Regions from separate parts of the Homo sapiens genome. Here region 2 is linked to region 1. The links are contacts of gene promoters, found by promoter capture Hi-C in human tissues and cell types (Jung and others, 2019). All regions are on one chromosome and are shown on one strand. Each heading gives the region's core, a stretch centred on a gene start or on the middle of the fragment in contact. The rest is flanking DNA. Distances are from core to core; before and after follow the strand shown. Region 1 holds the start of EPHA3 (EPH receptor A3). Region 2 has its middle 270 kb from the start of CSNK2A2IP.

Evidence for each region. Contacts are between HindIII fragments. The study calls those that stand out against the background at their distance.
Region 2: a contact is called between a fragment that was not itself captured here and the fragment with the promoter of EPHA3 in region 1, in 1 of the 25 tissues and cell types used here (dorsolateral prefrontal cortex).

Annotation. Positions count from the first base shown.
Region 1 is chr3:89,106,336-89,109,848 of GRCh38, forward strand. EPHA3 (EPH receptor A3) reads left to right here and starts at 1,286. Exons shown (of 17, transcript NM_005233.6): 1 at 1,286-1,501. The coding sequence starts at 1,414. RefSeq lists an enhancer at 1,128-1,267. The HindIII fragment of the contact is 4,313 bases long and covers 1-2,851 here.
Region 2 is chr3:88,608,372-88,612,261 of GRCh38, forward strand. No RefSeq gene overlaps it. Among named protein-coding and RNA genes, the nearest start is that of CSNK2A2IP, 270 kb to the left of the region's middle. The HindIII fragment of the contact is 4,868 bases long and covers 1-3,890 here.

The DNA.
Region 1 (3,513 bases), core at 36-2,535:
AAAACATTGAGTTTGTGGACTGAATACATTATTAGCAAGGGCTTTTCAAACTTTCATTTAAGTTTCATTATCAAGAGCTCTAAAATTGATCACTGATCTTAAGATTATCAACATACCTTTATTTTCTGAAGTTGTGAGAGGAATATAATAATCTTGTTTTCTTTTTAGTATAAGAAGAGATAGATGGGCGGAAGGATATCTGAGTAACCATTTTCTGGGAGATATTTTAAAGATAAGTGATGCTGGTTATTAAAATATAAATTACAAAATTGTTTGGCTGAACTAGATTGCAATAGGTTGTTCAGCAATGGGATTGGAAATAACAGAGACCATTGATAGTCATGGTGTAAAATAAGTGAGAAAGTACGAGGACATTATTATTTAGCTTTTGGATTTGGAATGTTAAAGAATAAGAATACCCCAATATTATTAGACTATCAGTGGTTGAAAGTTGAATGGAGGAGCTGTGAATTATGCATTGTTTCTCTTGCAGAACCCAGAGATCCTAATGTGAGATGGTGAGGGAGGGGGATATGTATTATTAAGAAATTTAGGTTTGATCTGTATTACTTTTACAACACAGAACGAGAAAAGAATGTAGACCTCCGGCTGGGGTTAGACTTGCTCCCTTCCGTAAGATGATGAAGGTCAACTTCCCTGTTTGAAAAAAAACAAAGTATGCTCTATGTGCGCGGAAAATCACTGTGCCAGATCTAGTAAAAAGCCACGATACCATTGGGTGTGGAAATGCAGAGACCCTCTGATTCAGGCTGTGTATTAGTGTCTTTCTGAATCACAAAGAACTCATGGAGAGTTATGATCACATTGAACACAGTAAAGGAATAACTATAATCATTTTTTTCAATTATACAAACATGATTGACTTTTTAACGAAAGACTGCTATTCTTTCAAAACACACGTTTCTCTCGCATTTCAGTTCCTTTTGCACTCACATTGCCATATGATACTCCTATCAAGGCTGTGATTTCTTCGGTGAATTAAGCAACAGAGCATGGATAGCAAACAATAAAACAGCTACTTTTCATGCAACACAAAAGAGGGAGCATTTTTCTCAGCACCGCGGCCTCATCACATCTTCTGTGTTTCCTGTCCCATGGGCGACGCCCCCACTCCCACCCGGTCTCCTTCCCGAGCAGCTCTGGGCTGCAGAGCCAGCTGCGTGCCATCCCGCTCTGCTTCAGCGCACGCTGAAGACGGCACTAGGACCCAGGGAAGTCCCCGAGCGGGGTTCGCGGAAAGGCAGCCAGACTCCTCCTTATCTCCAGTGTCAAACTTGACATCAGCCTGCGAGCGGAGCATGGTAACTTCTCCAGCAATCAGAGCGCTCCCCCTCACATCAGTGGCATGCTTCATGGAGATATGCTCCTCTCACTGCCCTCTGCACCAGCAACATGGATTGTCAGCTCTCCATCCTCCTCCTTCTCAGCTGCTCTGTTCTCGACAGCTTCGGGGAACTGATTCCGCAGCCTTCCAATGAAGGTAAGCCAGGTACCGCGACGCACGGAGCTCTGCCCCGCGGGGCTCACGCTCTTCAAAGCACGTTCTCACCGAAGCCTTGCACGTCGGGAAGGTGCCTCCGAATAGAGCAGTTTGCTCTGAGAGTGAAGGAAAGATGTGCCTTTTTTTTTTCCAACTGTCTTCTAAAACACTTCAGGAGATAATTTTAGATGGTCTAAACTTTGAAAATGTGTTTTTAATCTGACACCATTTCGAGCAATTACCTTGTTTGCCAATTTGAGCAGAAAGAAAGAAAGAAAATCCTCCAGCGTTGCAACCCAGTTATGTTAATTGCCAAATAGCCAAGGCAGTATTTTATTTTCTAATTATGACCATGTGGTACTCCGAGAAGTTTGAAAGAAAATTCAGCCTTCCTCTCTAGACTCTTTAGTATGTTTAAAGGTAATGACAGGTTGTTCCTACTTGGGATCATGGCATTTATGAATGGACTAAAGGGAAATCAGAGTTTGTCGAAGCGGAGGTGCGTGTTTATGGTGCAAGGGCTGTGTTGAAGTTGTGTGTATCCCGCCAGGCAATGGTTTGCTCTATGGTACAGGTTCTAAAGAGCAGCATATGCCACATTAACGTAAGTAATATTTGCAAGAATTACAATAAGCTTAGGTTGGATTCTCTTTGTTTAAAGGCTTATATACAAATAGGAGAATGTATTTAATGAATAGTGGATAGCTCCTGGGAAGATATAGTAAATAACTGAATAGTAGATTAAGAGAGAATGTTCATATGCAGCAAATGGCATTTCCTTGATGTTGTGTTATTTATTATCCTTGTAATGAGCATTAATTCCTTTTCAGTGGGTTAAAGTGCAAACCTAATGTTAAGGACACCAATGTGTTCTATAAGATTGTGTACTTAATACATACATTTTCTTTCTCCTGTATTCCTTTTGTGATCTATTCTTGTGAATACAGTCACTAACTCGTAAAACAAACTTCTCTAAATAATTGATTAGTGTAAAGCCACACTTACAACATTAATTTCCTCTTAGTGATTTTGAACTTATAACAGTAACATTTAGCAATTTATTTTGCAAGTTAACAATACCGAGCAACTGATGTGCAAACATCATGTTATATACATCACTCCTTAGAAAATATATTGTCAAGCCAATACTGTTGTATATGTACCTTAATTTTAAAAACACGAGTAAAAACAAAATACTTAGAAAGTTTTTTATTAAATGTAATAACTGCCTGATACTCGGTGACCTACTTTCACTGCTAATAGAGCAGTAATTTATCTCCTTCCTTACTGACTGCCTTTATCAATTTGGCAGTTTTCATTAAATGTTCTGAATCTTTTTTCTAAATAAGAAAATGAAAATTCTAAAATATAAGGATCAAGAAAATTATCTTACCCACAAATGACTTTTTATTTTACAAACCAAATTAAAATGTTTATTTGAAAGTAAGAGTCAATCATTCTTCCTGAATGAAAGGTAAGAGTATTCATTTGTATAACGGGTAACATGTATAATAGGTAACATATCAATAAATTAAACTTAATGTTTTAAAAATTTTTGTTCTTTGCAGATATTAAAATATTGACAATAACTAGAAAAATAGTATTAAAATTCCCACATTGTCATGATAAATTATATTTTCCAGATAGAATGGTTATGAACTATGTAGATATGGATATTACTGAATTAATTATGCACAAGAATGTAGCTGTTAGTCAGTATTTTTGTGGAAAACAACCTTTAAGTAAACTGCAAGAGAAAAAAAAAGACACCAAACTATTTCACACCTATGTAAAATTAATCAGTATTAATTTAATGAAACAGAGTTAATCAAATACAAATTGCTTTTAAGCCTCACCTCATGTATGTTTGGGGATATAATGTATATAATTATACAGACAGGTACACATTAACCATATGGATATAGAAAGGTAAATATATTCAGAAAGCTGACATAATTGCATTTAATTTGCTTGGATGAAAGTTTATCCATCATTCATGGGATTATTCCTTC
Region 2 (3,890 bases), core at 476-2,975, 500 kb before region 1:
CCCCCTCAAGGACCTAGAACTAGAAATACCATTTGACCCAGCCATCCCATTACTGGGCATATACCCAAAGGATTGGCCTCATTCTTGGCTTCCTTTTATGTATTGATTTATAAATTCTTTATTCTTTTTCCCTCTAAATTGTATTATCTTCTCTAATTGTGTGTTCTTAAAAGTTTGCTTAATATTTTCATTATTAAATTAAGGAAAATATTTAATTGAAGTGTTTAGTTTTATTCCAATTAAATATAGGAAATAAAAGTGATAATGCAATTTTACATTAAAAAATCACCTAGATTTAAAATGGTTGTCTACTTTTGCCTATATGCTAATGTAACTAAGGTCTAATGTTAGACAACTAGTTTTTTCACCACAGTTTCTTCACACTTCTTTGTTCTATGAGGTTATCTTTGTTATCCTACGCACAAATTAATGCATTCTTCAAAACCAGTTTAGAGGCCGGGAGCGGTGGCTCACGCCTGTAATCCCAGCACTTTGGGAGGCCAAGGTGGTTGGATCACCTGAGTTCAGGAGTTCGGGACCAGCCTGCCCAACATGGCAAAACTCTGTCTCTACTAAAAATACAAAAACTAGCCAGGCATGGTGGCACAAGCTTGTAATCCCAGCTACTTGTGAGGCTGAGGCAGGAGAATCGCCTGAACCTGGGAGGCAGAAGTTGCAGTGAGCCAAGATCACACCATTGCACTCCAGCCTGGCAACAAGAGTGAAACTCCGTCTCAAAAAACAAAAAAACAAAAAAACAGAAAAACCCAAAAACAACAAAAAACCAATTTAGAGACTGAAAGTGTCTGTAGAAAATGTTTAATAATAATGTTGCTGGGCTTTTAGAAGCCAAAGCCTTATGGAATCTTGCCATTACAGAGATCCAAGTTCATAGCCATGTAGGAAAAACCAATGCAAAAAAAAAAAGACAACTACCATCACAAAAAAAAATTTTCTCCAGCCCACTCTTGGTTCACTTTTCCTGCCTAGGGGTTCCAGGTGTCCATACTCCCTTTTGGGCCGCTCATGCTTTCTTCTCGTCTATCTATTCCTTCCTAATGCCAGCTCCAAAAAAAAAAAAAAAAAAAGTCTCTGCTGCTATTCATACATCTTTTGTTAAACTTTAAGCAAACTTGTGGAATGAAGACTCCTTTTCAAAATTTTTCTGCTTAAATAATTCCAACTACCAGTTAGCTCTTACATTTTTAGGCAAATGCCCTTTTTTGCTATTTCTGAAATCATTTTTCTATTTTTTGAATGTCTGACAGACTTGAATTCATCAACCTTCAGATTTGTAAAGCCTGAGTCCCCTACATTAAAGAAGATCACATCATCAGTAACCCAAAAGATTGAGCCAATGATTTCCAGAGTAAAGGAGAGCCATGGTCATTGTTAATCTTCAGTAGTGGTCGCTGTTCCTTACAATCCCCATTTAGGAGTCCAAAGTAATAATAGTAGTGGTAGCCAACATTCTTGAGTGCAATCTGTCAGACACTAATTTATAACTTTTTCTCAATTATTACAAAGCTTTATGATTTAGTACTCTAATGACCCTCTTTTACAGAGGAGATGGCTGATTTTCAATAATTTTCTTTAGAGAAATTTGGCACTTCTGTTTACAGTAATAGTTTCTATATTTAAATACATATTATATATACATATAGGTTGCTAGAGAGACTTATTAGTACTTTTTTTTAACTAAATGATTTGGGTCTATTCTTAGAATTTAGTTTCATCACCTGTAGCAGAGTATCTTTGAGGAAAAGAAATACATACCTTTCTTGCTGTTTCTATAGTTTAGTTGAAAACATCGCTTCTTTTGAAACCTCCTAAAGAAAGTGACAAACCAAATATTTTGAATCCTTAAATGATTTCATTGTGTTCAAATATTTATGGGCTGGTAGAAGAAGTTCTGAGAGAGCAAGAAACAAGAACTCAAGCGATGACTGGAAATTTTAGTTTCTGTGGGGTTTGAAGGTTCTGAAAGGCAGTAGCTGGGTTCACTGTCATTTACAAAAGCCCAGGAGAGCACAGACAAGATTTAAAGGGCCTTGGAGTTGAAAGAGAAAACAATCAAAGGGAAGGAGGAAAGTGGATGCTAAAAAAGGTTCACCTAAGTTTAGGGTGAGTTAGAGGAACCAGGACATGACCAGGGTGTAGGTTGTCAAGGAAAACATAACAGAAATCATGAAAACTTTTATCCAATTAGGAATTTACAAAGCACTTTATAATTATAATTCTTCATTAATGTGCTTTGAAGAAGTATAATTTGGCTTAAAAAAGGAATAACTGTTGATTAGATGAAGAGCAGAAGTAAGAAAATTAAGATCGGTTCTGGATTTCTGAAGTATTTTACCTATTTTTGACACTAGTTCAATTATTTTTTAATGAGTTTTACCAAAATAACTGTGGGGAGGGGTCATAAAAAGAAGGAGAAGAAATTCTTTTATACCTCAAAGTTCTAATAGTAAGTTTAAAATAATAACATATTTACCTTAAGCATATTATACGAGTTAAAGAAGAAGTTCCTGAAGTATTGTACGAAAGCAGCAGTTCCGGGAACTTGTTAGAAATGCAAACATTTGGGTCGCTCTAGAGTTCTTGAATCAGAAACTCTGGGGTGGGGCCAGGCCTTTTAACATATTTTCACAAGCTCTCCGGGTGATTTTGATGTATGCTGAAGCTTGAGAACCACTGAGTTAAGGTAACACTAGGTACTGTAGCAGACATATGCCCAGTCTCAGTAGTGTAAGACAATGAGTGTTAATATTTCTGCTTATGTAAGAGCTCAAGAATGGCATTGCTCCTTGAAAGGGTGTCCTCCCAGGATGCAGTCTCCCATTTTATGTCTGTCACATTTACCATGTGACTCCACATATCTTGGGAGCCATTTCCACTGCAGTCACCTTGAATGGAAACAATAATGTCGCTTCAACTAACATTTCTTTGGGTCACATTTAACTGCAAGTGAGGCTAGAAAATGCAGCCTAGCTTTGCGCCTAAATCCTGAGGAAGCCAATGTGATCAGCTAGCTCACTTTGCCAAGCATATGCTTATATATACACATATCTTTTTTTTTCACTCTAGTGTCTTTATTGAACTACATATTTTTTTTCTATTCTCATAGCTCATTTATTTGCAACATATGTTCATAGCCTGTTTACAATTCCAACATTCAACTTTGTCTTGGATACTATATCTCCTTAACAATTTTACAGTTAAAGATTAAAAACAGCCTGGTTTTTGAATTTTGTCAGTTTCAATTTTAACATAAATTCTTATGTCCATTCGTGCTATACAGTAGCCCCATGTGTCTAAATTAACTTAGTGAAAATGTTTATTTCCTCTAGAATAAATATATTTTTATTTTTATCATCTTTTATATGCCAAGAACATAAAACTGTAGCCTTGATACCCTCATATAAACTGGAATAGCAACAAACATATTTTAATAAATATTGGTCTTATTGCAAAGGATAGAAATAAACATTATCTTTAGACAACCTACCCATTGCATTAGTAATTCTCCTGTCCTGACTCTTCAAAGAGCATTATTTTCTTTTCCTTCATCTTTGGATTTCTGCCAGAAGATAAAGAGCACGAGTTATTCAACTTGGTCTTTGGAGAGATACAACCAAACTGGCAGATAATTTAATAACACTGTTTGACCTCTTTGTCATATTGATTTATTTATTTACTTATTGGAGAGGAATGTACACACTGGAATGTTCTATTTAATGAGGCTATGAAATCATCCTAGGAATGAATATACGTGTATGTGTACATTTCTCTGAAGTAGACATTCAGCTAAACTAGATACCACATTGAAGATTTGTAAAGTACTATGATTTTGTGGTTTTATTCTAAAACCTTTTACTTTGCCCACTTGA